3 separate regions of the Homo sapiens genome follow, and all the other regions are linked to region 2. The links are contacts of gene promoters, found by promoter capture Hi-C in human tissues and cell types (Jung and others, 2019). All regions are on one chromosome and are shown on one strand. The core of a region is centred on a gene start or on the middle of the fragment in contact, and the rest is flanking DNA. Distances in the headings are between cores, read along the strand shown.

Region 1 (4,071 bases), core at 1,445-3,944, 380 kb after region 2:
CATGGCAGAGAGAGTGTTCTTATGAGGGCCACAGCAGCTGAGACCAAGACGTGACGCCTCTCTCCAGGGGCTCACAGGCTCCTGCAAGGAGGCCACACCCTGGAGAACGCAGTTGGATTTGTTTCTAGCAAATGTGGCACTCATAACAGATTTCCAGAAATAACCGTGGAGACGGGAGGATATGAGGTCCTTCGGTGGGCAGGTGAAGCCTAACAGGTCTCCCGGGCTCAGCATTAATGTTAACCTTCAGTTAAGCTGCTGAGGCTTGAGGGCAGTTAAGTTACAAAAAATCTGCAAAACCCAGGAAAGCATCACTTCTGCCTAAGCAGCTTGAAGGCATCATAATGCCTCTACCCCAGCACTTCTGTGGCTTTGATTGACACATTTGGAGCCACATCTGTCTGGTAGACGTGGGTAGAGACATTCTTGCTTGTTTTTCTAGTGCAGTCCGGATTTGTGTGGCTCCACTATAAATTCAAGAACCCACCCTTTTCCCTTTATGGAAGGGCCAGAGCTTCTTCAGGCTGGCAGAGCAGTTGGCGTTGACCCAAAGTAGGGGTGCCCTGGTGTTTTCTGCCATCCAGGTAGTGCTGAAGATGTGGAGTGGGCATCTGAGTCAGCTCCCTGTCACAGGCCAAATAACTCTCCACTTCTCCACTGCAGCACTGTAGAATGGGGAGGGTGGGTATGTGTTTGAAGGAGACCCAGAAGGAGTGGGGAGCCGTAGGCCACACTGTGAAACTTCCACCGTTCCCAGAGAGCCCAAGATCTGAGTCTGTTTCTTGGGGTGGAATTGAACAGTGAAAGACTGGATCAACAATTTCCTTTCCATGTACAGAAAGCAACCTCTTCTTCTTCAGCAGGATTCAGCTTCTTTCCTGCAGGTTTCCTCCCTCCAGTTCCCTCCACTGAAGAATCCTTTGAGATTGGCTGCAGTACCATGCAGAAAACTGGAGTGTTAAAGCTTCAGACTTCTAGAAAGGTGGAAGCTCCTGATGGCGGTGGAAGTCCACAGATGGCGGGGAGGAGGGCGAATGGAAAGTGTTTGTGGAGCAGAGAGCACCATGAGCTCTGGACCTCAGAATGACCCAGAACAGGTCTTCTCCTTTGAAGAAACATCTCTCTCTAATCTAAATGGTCAGCTCTCTCTGGATACATACGCTTATTTTGGCCTGTGACAACATGAATTGTTAGACATATCCCTGCCGACCCTTTTTTGTTGTTACCTATGAATAACACTTTTCTATTGTACTAACATTCAATTGCCAGGGAACACCTTGGTATTCTCTATAAATGCAGGAGAGCTTCTGTTAGGGCATTCAAGGCAGTTTGGGGTTCCCATTATATGCAGGCTGTGTCCGACGGAAGGGATTTATTCTGCAGCTGAAATGTCTAAGAGTTATTATTTTTCCCACGGAGTATATTTATTTCTTTTTGACAGTGTTTGAGGTTATGGACTCTATTTCTAGCTGACAAAAGAAAACAGCATACAATAAAATCTGTGACATTAGACTGGGTAAAACCAAATGCACTCATTTGCTTTCAGACAAGGACACCCGTTTCAATAACTGAAAGAATTGAGAATGTTTAATGTTCTGAGAACATGCTGAGCTGAATTTAAGTGAAAGATGATCCCTGGTTCTTTCATTCATGCTTTAAAAATAAACTACGTAATTAAATGGCTACAGATACTTCTTTTGTGGGGAGGAAAACAGCAGTCAGATTCTTTGCAATCATGCCAACAGGGCAGTAGGTTTCCTAACCCTTTGGCAAAATTGAGAATCAATACCAATAAGAAAAAAAATAATAACAAAAGGGGAAATCTCACAGGAGTCACAGGCGATAAAAGATTTACAATGTGAATAAAACATTACAGGTCAGCATTAAAACAGATGATACGTCTCTCTGACAAGACAAAGCAGCCAGCCTCTAACCAGAGGTGCAAAACCGCATCCAGGGGCCAATGAGAAAGCCCCAGACCAGCCACTTCCCTTCCCCTCAAGGAAAGGAGCCTCCTTCTCGGGGAGACATTCACTCCACAAGCTGCATTCACAGTTTGACAGTTCACCTTGTTTGAAAGTAAAATTCTCTGGAAGTACAAATCTTGCCCATGCATAATTTCTAGGACTAGTATATTTGGAATTTGTGAACAAAGAGACCAGACTTGCTTTTGAAAAGGAAAAGATGCTTATCTGTTGGTTCATTTTGTAGGTGAATAAGACTTTTAAAAATACAACCTGGAGAAATTATGAAGTCAAAAAAGGTCCATAAAGACAGGCTGAATTCTGACTAAAAGGCAGTGGAAGCCATCGCCAACTGGAGGGGTTTTATGAACATGGTGGAGGGGAACTCTCGGAGGGTGATCATTATTCAGGGCTCATTAGTTCTTGCTGAGTGGACTCTCAATCATGGGAATTTCCATATTCCAAAGCCAAATTCTTGAAAAGAAAACTCAGAAAACGATATTTTGGTGTCCAGCCATTATCAAGGGAATACATTTGACAAATATAAATCAAATTTTATTATTTTCTGCCAAATCATGGAGAGTAGGTCTATATGCTCACCACTCGAAAGAATGCAGTTCACCTCCAATCAGAGACAGCATAACTGGATGCCCAGGCAGCCTGATCTCACATCCCTTAAAGTTGCCAGTGGACACACAGCCATGGCCAACAGTCTCAGTTTGGCAATATGTCTTGTCATGATAAATTAAATATCTGCTTCAGTAACTAGACTCTATACTGGAAACTTGCACACCGATTTTATAACACTTTACATTTAAAATTTAGAGCACTTTATCTTATTTATTATTATTATTATTATTATTTTGAGACAAGGTCTCACTCTGTCACCCAGGCTGGCGTGCAGTGGCATCATCACAGGTCGCTGTAGCCTAGACCTCCTGGGCTCAGGTGATTCTCTCACCTCAGCCTCCCAAGTAGCTGGGACCACAGTGCACACCACCATGCCCGGCTAATTTTTGTATTTTTTGTAGAGATGGGTTTTCACCATGTTGCCCAGGCTGGTCTTGAACTCCTAGGCTCAAGCCATCTCCCCGCCTCGGCCTCCCAAAGTGCTGGGATTATAAGCATGAGCCACCACGCCTGGCCTAGAGCCTTTTAAAAATGGTTCATAGAAGCAAATTTTTGTGTTTTTTTGTGTGTGTGTGTTAACATGAACTACAGAGTTTATCACAGACGATTAGTAACAATATCTAATTCCTGTTCCTGTTTCTCAACTGGCCATCTGGCTTTTCTTAATCTTTTGAAGTTCACTTACTATTGCTAACGATTAATGAGCACATACAAATGTACTAGACACTGGGCTAGGCCCTTTATTTACTTTGTTTTTTTTGCATTTCATCCTCATAGCATCCTTATGAGGTAGAAGCTGTCTACCTTAGTGATAAGAAAATCAGGGCTTGGAAAATTTGGCCAAGGCCACCCACTGCTACCACCAAAATCCAGCCAAGGCAGTTTGAAGCCAGTCAGAGCTCTTAACAGGCACTCCCTGTGGCCTCCCTCCGAGTGCAGGCAATGTAGACTTGTGGCAATTTCTCTCACCTTATTGCTCAGCTAATACCTCTACCCTGAAACTGCCAATATTTTTAGTCCTGATGAATTTCATCCAATTTTCTTCCTTTTCATTTTGCCTCACCCATTTATTTCCCGTTTCTAGAATTGTTTGTCTTGCATGATATGTAGTTATCTAGAAACGCTTGTTTTCTCAGTGTTAAATGAACTCATATCATTGTTTGACTTATAATCTGTGTTGTTCTAGCTTGCCTGGCTTTAGTAATACAGTTTTTACTTCAATTTACAGGCAACCTGCGGAGGAAATAGCTTGGCCTCTGTTATTTACATATTGATGTGTGAGATCCACAAATTATAATGGTGGCGTCTGATAATGCAGTGTCTGTACTGCCCTTTTCTTTATTCTTTTTGAAATGGTGACACAAACCTTTATCACCTGGTTTGGTCTTTTCCTGGAGCAACTTGCTATTTCTAGGAAGATCTAAAATGCAGGGTTTCTTCTTATTTTTTTTTTCTCTTTTTATGGCTCTTCTTCCTT
Region 2 (4,339 bases), core at 1,710-4,209:
CTGTAAAAAGAAAGAAGAAGGGGAGAAAAACAATACCTATCTCAAGGGTTGTTAACGTACTTAGGACACTTGTAACAGGGCCTACCACACAGTAAGCCCTAGATAACTATTAGCTTATAACAGAAATCTGACACACATTTGTTGGGTAGTTAAAACTGTAAGCTGAGTTTAGAGAAATCATAAATACTCTGATGGCTTAGTTTCCCCAGAGGTAAACTGAAGACAGTAACAGAATCTGCTTCATAAGTCTGTTGTGATGCTTAATGAGACTGCCACATAAAAACTCTTTCACAATGCCTGGCCCATAATTAAGTGCTCGATAATGTCACGATGCCTGGAATATAGTAAGCACTCGATAAATGTCAGCTGTTGTATTAACAGTTCTGGGAAGCAAAGATTACCATCACCCTTTTTTATTTCTGAATAACAGGCAACTCAGAGAGTGTTAAGTGCCCCGCCAACAAAACTATACTTAGAAAATTATTATACCAAGATTTCAACTCAGATGGGTCTGGAATCACAAGTTCTAACCACTACACTATATACCTTCCTCTTTGAACAGGGCTTAGAGAACAGAAGAGCTAATTCATACCTACCAGATTACTAAGAAAAAGATGTTTGGAGATAACAATGCTAAATTTGGGGGATTCCCCACAGAGTCAACCATGAGCTTGGCCAAAAGCCCTTCTCCGCCATGCTAGGAAATGAAAATCTGCATAGACTGGCCCCTGTTCTCAACCAGTTGTCTGCCTTTCACCAAGTGGTTGTGAAACCACAGCCCTGTCACTAAAAACGGAAAAAAGAAGTTATTTTCCCCAGTAACTTAACGAGCAAAATGAAGCCTTAAAATGAAAGTAGTGATCCTAGGGCTGAGAAAAGATATCCACTGCTCCAAAGCCCAGCAGAATTGCTGTAGAACACCAACGTTACTCTTTGATTAACATACTTTTATTTTTTTTAATGAACGTGCTTATTTCTATTACTTTAGGTTACCTAACTCAGGGGTCCTTCCCATTAGTAAAATAAGAGGAAGTGTGTACCAGCCTGGAGGGGAGACTCCCTGGTGGGGCACAGTGTCAGCCTGAGCAAGTCCCACTGTCAACACTGATGTCCTCCCCAGTTAAATGGTAATCAAAAGTGAGAATGAAATGGACTGGTAGAAGAAACAGGACGACCAGTTGAGTCCATGCTAATCACTGATATTTCACATCTTCACACAGTTTCTTCTAAATGTATTTTATTTTTGTATTTTTATTAAAAACTGCCCTATCAGTCAATCTCAAGTCTACCCTTCCTTTAAAAAATAGTAATAAAAGGCCGAGCGCAGTGGCTCACCCCTGTAATCCTAGCACTTTGGGAGGCCGAGGCAGGTGGATTGCTTGAGCTCAGGACTTCCAGACCTGCCTGGGGCAACATGGCAAAACCCTGTCTCTACAAAAAAAATACCGAAGTTAGCCAGGGGTGTGGTGGCCCGCACCTGTGGTCTCAGCTACTAGGGAGGCTGAGGTGGGAGGATCACTGAAGCCTGGGAGGTGGAGTTTGCAGTGAGCCAAGATCGCACCACTGCAATCCAGCCTGGGTGACAGAATAATACCTTGTCTCAAAAGAAAAAGAAAAAAGTAAATAATATTAAGAATAATGAAGGTCCAGCTATGTACCTACCTTAGGAATAGGCATCACTGGAAGTGATGGCAGAGGCAAGGCAGGAGTCCCTGACCTCACCTCCATTCTCTCACTGAGGAGCCCCTGCAGAAGCTGGTCAACTATCCAAGCAGTCCCTGCTTCTTCCTGGCGAAGGCCTCAGCCTCCAGCCCAGCCCCCTCCTGGGAGAGGAGGGGGAGCTTATGCAATCCAAACCCAGTTCCCAGGCCCCAGAGGTGGACATAACTCCGGGGTGGAAGTCAGAAGCCTGCCAGGTTGTAGGCCTGGTTCTGCTCCCATCTGGCTGAATGATCCTGGTCCCAACACTCAGCGTCCCTCGGCCTTAGCCTCCCTGTCTGTAAAATGAAAGGTTTGATGGAGATCATGTGCAAGCCTCCTCCCCGTTCTAATTTTCTGATACCATCATTTTTAACGTGTCTTGTAGAGATAGAAGCCCTTCCTTTCAGCAGGACATGTTGCTCCCCATTCCGTGACGATCCCCCTCAATAATCCGTGTAATTTGAGAAAAGTATGATGCATCGGAACTGAAAAACAGGCTGTTGCTTTCCTGGTCACCAAATCTGATAATCAGTCAATTATATGGATTTTCCCCTGGGCCTTCTCCCTCAATCCCACAATCCCACGAATAAACCTGCCTACCCCTCCCAATTCCTCAACTCAAGGCTACCCGTTAATGAATGAATAAAAAAATAAATAAATAAATTTTAAAAACCACCTCCCCACCCCCTTCTACCCGGCCTGGTGTAAGGTGCCACAGCACTTCTTCCGTAATCTAGAATCCACCTCTGCCCCACCCTCTCCCCGGGGTGTCTTTTTAGCCAAGAATCCCTGGATCGACGCGCTCCATCTCCCCGCTCTACCGCGCTGATCATTTCTCCCTGCCCGGCACACCTCGGCTGAAAAGGAGGCGGCTCCTCTGCTCCAAGCCCAAGGGACCCAAACCTCTTTCCAGCCCGCAAGGGTGCGGGCACCTGGGAACAGCGGGAAGGGCCCGCGCCTCTGGAAAGAAGGGCCGCCGTCCCCACCTGGGCGGTGCAGGGGAGGCCCCCTCAGCGGGTCTCTTGTCACTTACGGGCGGCTCCTCCGGGCAGAACAGAGCAGGGCCGGGCCGAGCCGGGCTTGCGGGCCGCGGAGTTTGCTGACTCAAAGGCGCGCGGCGGCAGCGGCGGCGGCGAGCGCCCAGGAGCGCACACGAGCGCAGCCCCGCGCTCCCCGCGCTCCCCGCGCTCCCCGCGCACGTAGCGGCCCCGCGCCCGCGCTCAGCGCCAGCCGTCCGCCTGTGGGCGCCGCGCCTAGTGCTTCCGCCGCCTCCGCGCAGCCCAGCCCAGGTGCGCCCCCACCCTGCAGAGCTAGCCTCCTGCTTCCTGAAATTGAGTTAGGGAGGAAATGCCCCCATTAGTCCGGACGTTGAGGCTGGAGGTGCTCCAGCGGCACCCTTCGGAATTCGCCACCTGAGTCACCTTAAGCTTCCTAACCCTGACCCCACAGTTATGGGGAGGATTGCCGATGGGGAGGAGGACGGATAAATAACGTGATAAACAAGAATGGCAGAATGTTCATAGCATCTAGGTGGTGGGCTATGGTGTTTATATAAAATTATTTCAGTTTTTGTCTATGTTTGAAATGTCTCAATAAAACATTTGGGGGGAAAGCTAATGAGATCTGCCAAGGGACCTGACTGAGGAAAGCATTTCCCAAATGGCACCTGAGGCTGGGTCCCCACACCTGTTTGCATGGGAAACCACAATCATCACTTAAACTGCTAATAAGTGACTGAATGACACAGAATAATAAGCATAGCCTAATATTTCATTTTTCAAGCATGAATTTTCCCATTAGATACAGCTTGTCGCTGATCATCCTCCAGGGACCATTCCAGGCCCACCTGAAAACGCATCTGTTCACCACACCTACATTAACTCCCTAACAAAACGTATAAATATACAATGTTGTGTCTTAACATCTTGGATCTTGAAGTTGTATTGCTGAACCCTCAATCACTGGTATTTAATTTCCTAAAATTGCACCCAAGTCATGACACACAAGTGAATGCAACCATGATCACTTTTGAAAATCAAATTAAGCTGGTGTGGTGGCTCACGCTTGTAATCCCAGCACTCTGGGAGGCCGAGGCGGGTGGATTACAAGGTCAGGAGATGGAGACCATCCTGGCTGACATGGTGAAATGCCGTCTCTACTAAAAATACAAAAACTTAGCTGGGCGTGGTGGCGCGCGCCTGTAATCCCAGCTACTCGGGAGGCTGAGGCAGGAGAATAGCTTGAACCCGGGAGGCAGAGGTTGCAGTGAGCCGAGATCATGCCATTGCACTCCAGCCTGGGCGACAGAGCAAGATTCTGTCTCAAAAAAAAAAGAAAGAAAATCAAATTAAAGTGTATTTTTTATATTCTTGTCCCTATGCTCCGCAAAGAAAAACATTGAGTAGAAAACAAAATGCAGCATGTATCTAAGATCCTAAGAGATTCTGTAAAATTAAAATCTTTCTGAACTTATTGTCAAGAGCATGACTTTACAGCTGTAGACAAAGCAGCAACAAACCCTTGGAGAGTCTACTGAAAGTCATTTGAATATCTGTTAGAATTTTGACCCTATTAAGACTGGTAACTTGGGCCGGGCGCGGTGGCTCACGCCTGTAATCCCAGCACTTTGGGAGGCCGA
Region 3 (4,234 bases), core at 1,606-4,105, 360 kb after region 2:
TTTGAGCCCAGGGGTGTCATTGCATGTTTGATGAGTCTCTTAAAGACAGCATATCATTGGGTCTGGGTTCTCTATCCAGCTTGCCACTCTGTGCCTTTTAATTGGGGCATTTAGCCCATTTACATTCAGGGTTAGTATTGATATGTGTAGATTTGACCCTGTCATCATGATATTAGCTGGTTATTATGTAGACTTGTTTGTTTGGTTGCTTTATAGTGTCACTGGTCTGTGTACATATGAAGCGTAGTTTGCTGGATATGAAATTCTTGGTTGGAGTTTTTTCTTTAAGAATATTGAATACTGGCCCCTAATCTCTTCTGGCTTTTAAGGTTTCTGTTGAGACATCCACTATTAGTCTGATGGGCTTCCCTTTGTAGGTGACCCTGACCTTTTTGTCTAGCTGCCTTTAACATTTTTTCTTTCATTTTGACCTTGGAGAATCTGATGATGATGTGTCTTAGGGATGACCTTCTTGTGAAGTATCTTACTGGGGTTCTCTGCATTTCCTGAATGTTGACCTCTGTAGCTAGGGTGGGAATTTCTCATGGATGATATCCTGAATTATGTTTTCCAACTTGGTTATACTCTCCCCATCTCTTTCAGGGACACCAATGGGTTGTAGATTTGGTTTCTTTACATAATCCCATATTTCTCAGAGATTTTCTTCATTCCTTTTCATTCTTTTTTTCTCTATTCTTGTCTGACTCTCTTATTTCAGAAAGCCAGTCTTCAAGCTCTGAGATTCTTTCCTCAGTCTGGTCTATTCTGCTATTAATACTTGCGATTCCATTATGAAGTTCTTATAGTGTGTTTTTCAGCTCTATCAGGTCAGTTATATTCTTTTGCATACTGGCTATTTTGTGTGTCAGCTGCTGTATCATTTTATTGTGATTCTTTACTTCCTTGGATTGGGTTTCAATGTACTCCTGAATCTCAATGATCTGTGTTCCTATCTTTATTCTGAATTCTATTTTTGTCACTTCAGCCATTTTGGCCTGGATCAGAACCCTTGCTTGAGTGGTAGTGTGGTCATTTGGAGGAAAGAGGCATTCTGGATTTTTGAGATGTCAGAGTTCTTGCACTGGTTCTTTCCTCATCTTTGTGGCCTGGTGTTCCTTCAGTCTTTGAAGTTGCTGTCCTTTGGATGGGTTTTAATTTTTTTGGCCATGCTCCACTACAGACACTCCCTCACCAAACCCTCTGGGCTCTACATCGACTGGTGTGCTTCCCCTACCACTTCTCTAAGAAGCTCTTCCTGCCAACTCAATTGTCTGTAGTGGTTGAGGGTTCTCCTCCTGTTGGGATTCTAGAGGCCCATGGTGGGAGTGAGTTGGTCCTTTCCTGTTCAACTCACTCATTCCCCTGGAGTCACTGGGGGCCAGGGATGAGTCAAGTGCACAGCAGCCCCCTGCAGGATTCCCAGCTCCCTTCTCTTCAGCCCAGCTTCTGTTCAATGTTTTCAATGACCAGAAATAACATCCTTTGCAACTATTTAGACTTATGAAAAATATTAAGTATCTACTTAAGTATGTGCTGGGGGCACATAGTTTTTCAAAGTTCTTACAGGGGAAAGGGAGTGGCTATGTAAACAAACAGTTGAAATCCAAACTACACGTTATGTTAGAAAGAAAGGCAATAGATGGAGTAACACAATAAATATATGACAATATTGCCTGGCTGTAATTGACATTCAGCAGAGTCATACTGACGCTTTTTCTGGAGGGATAGAAAAAAAAGTGTGAAGATCACTTATAAAATATTGACTAATCACTGCTTTTTAAATGATCAATATGTAAATATTAGTGTGGTAATGAAAATTTGCAGTTATTTTGGATTGTCAACACTAGAGGCCAGGAAGTCATGCTACCATAATTAAGATACAGTTATAGGTTTATGAACCACTCTGCAGCTGTAATCCTGAAATAATTCACACTCAGGCACTAGCATAGATAAACTGTGGCAGCTTCATCATAGGGAGTTTGTAGGAACACTGCTAAAGTTTGGTAGAACCTTGCTCTAGGAACAGGCTAGAGCACCACATATACCGCATCCTAAGTTGTGCAACATGGCAGCCCTGTTGTACTTCATGTCATATTTGTTGAACACTACTATATGCCAGCTGGGTTTGGGCAAAATTCTGAAAGACACAATCCCGAATGCCATCATCCTGAATGTTGGAATCTTGAAAAATCAAAATCCCAAAAATAGTTCTGGAAAAAATATTTTAAATCATTTAAAAGACATTTATTTACATTTTAAAAGGAGATTTATTTGAGAAGCGTAAAAACATGACAGAACACTTCATAGGCCACTTTCCACAATAAAACAGGCAATAATAACATACATATTTTTACAAGAGTAGACACTCAGCTATACCAATGGCAGGTATAACAGTTATGGGCAGACAAACCATATTCATAAAAAAATAGGTCAAAAAGCAAAATGTATTGACACATAACACTATGGTTGGTAATTGCATGCACTCATTTTTATAACTGTGGTCATCTAAAATACGGTGACAGACAACCTAAGTTTTGACAAGATTGAGCAAAAACCGTGATGGGTCACCAACACCCACATAGTCACCCAAAGAGCCAAGATCTCAAGAAATTTTATCTTTCACAAGTGCAGATGTACAAAAAAGACATCTTGTCATTTATTGAGGAAGTTTTTACATTTTTATGTACACACACAATGCTTCCACATAAAGTCAACGTTGTGATAATGCCCTTTCATGGTGTCAAATTTGCAAAAAATGCATAAAATGAACTAGAACTCTCTAAAAGTTTTCACCAATTTATACAAGTCCAGTGTTGGAAATGATGTGAAGATGAAATACATAGCTTATCAAATTAAAAAAAAATTATGCTGACAAGTTAAAATTGTGGAAAAAAATGAAAAAAAATCATGAAAAGTCAAAAAAAATTGACACATGAAAAGGTATATTACAGGGCTAGGTTATGGGCAATTGCAAAGAGGTAGTCCATAAAAGCTGGCCAACTTTCATGATCATTCACTATATTTTTGAAGTCTTGAGTCATAAATGAATAGCTGCTTCTTTTCTTGAAGGTCATGGCTCTCCTCAAAGAATATTTTCATCTTCATTTTCTATGCAACACTGCTCTTCAAATTCTATGATTTGATATACACTGACATGAGCATTCCCTATTACATTTTCTCATTTTCTGTACAATGCTTCTGTGTTGTTTTGGGTACATGGAAATCCATTCTGCACGCACTCGTATATAAACCACACATTTGGCAGAAACAATACTGGTGATCAAAGGCAACACTGTTGCATGTCTTCTTACCCTGCTTTGCACGTAATTATTTTCAAACCAGTTAAAAATTGCTGGCTTCTTCAGACAAATGAAGCTTTAATTTATTCAAAGCTCAGAATTTCATCGACTGGAAGTAATGCCATTGCAGGCAAATGACACATTTTTAAACTGAAGTTTTCCTTAACGCCTTATTGAATGGCCCATCCACTCATCTGAATTTTCTGCCAAATGCACATATAGACAATACCAAGATAATAGTTCCACCCAACATGATGCAACTAACATGATGCAACTATCCTGCATGTCACTAAAGATGCACTAATCCCTTCCCCAGAATTCTGCTTTTGGGATTTCAATATTTGGGATTTAAATTTTTCAAGATTGTGATTTTTGGGATATTAGATGTTAGGGATTTTGACTTTTTTAGATTTCAGTATTATGGACTGTGTTTTTTGGGATTATGACCAGACTGATGCTAAGCATTGTGTGAAAGGGTAGATATATACTATTAAATCAAAGGACATGGCCAGCCCTGGGCTGGGTCCAGTGTCAACCTCATGGGGAAAATCAGGTGAGCTTTGTGGGAGTCGGGGAGGGAGACAGGTAAGGAGAAACTTCCACATATGCTTGTGTGTGGCATAGAATATGCATGCAAAATATGGAAGCTGTTACTAATTGGTAAAGTAATGCTGCTGCTTACTAGTACTATTAGTATTAACTCTAACCCTAGTTACTGCTGCCAGTGTATCTGCCAATATACCCAGATCCTGTATATCTTATTCAAAGGCACATTGGAAAGTGCACCAATCAGGAGGCTCCCTTTTTAAATGCACCAGGTACTGTTTTAAGTACTTTATATACCTCGTCTCAGTGGTTCCTCAGAATAACCTAATATTAGCTTTGTTTTACAGATGAGGTAACTGGGGCACAGAGAAACTAAATAATTTGTTCAA

What was found. The method cuts DNA at HindIII sites, captures the fragments that hold promoters and counts their contacts. A contact is called where the count stands out against the background at its distance.
Region 1: a fragment that was not itself captured here is called in contact with the fragment with the promoter of SNX10 in region 2 in 2 of the 25 tissues and cell types used here (H1 embryonic stem cells and mesendoderm cells).
Region 3: a fragment that was not itself captured here is called in contact with the fragment with the promoter of SNX10 in region 2 in 1 of the 25 tissues and cell types used here (mesendoderm cells).

What each region holds. Positions count from the first base shown.
Region 1 is chr7:25,911,657-25,915,727 of GRCh38, reverse strand. No RefSeq gene overlaps it. Among named protein-coding and RNA genes, the nearest start is that of MIR148A, 36 kb to the left of the region's middle. The HindIII fragment of the contact is 6,078 bases long and covers 1-4,071 here.
Region 2 is chr7:26,290,482-26,294,820 of GRCh38, reverse strand. It overlaps SNX10 (sorting nexin 10), which reads right to left and starts at 2,959. Exons shown (of 7, transcript NM_013322.3): 1 at 2,735-2,959. RefSeq lists an enhancer at 925-974 and silencers at 2,466-2,545, 2,696-2,935. The HindIII fragment of the contact is 12,028 bases long and covers 1-4,339 here.
Region 3 is chr7:25,929,992-25,934,225 of GRCh38, reverse strand. No RefSeq gene overlaps it. Among named protein-coding and RNA genes, the nearest start is that of MIR148A, 18 kb to the left of the region's middle. The HindIII fragment of the contact is 6,244 bases long and covers 1-4,234 here.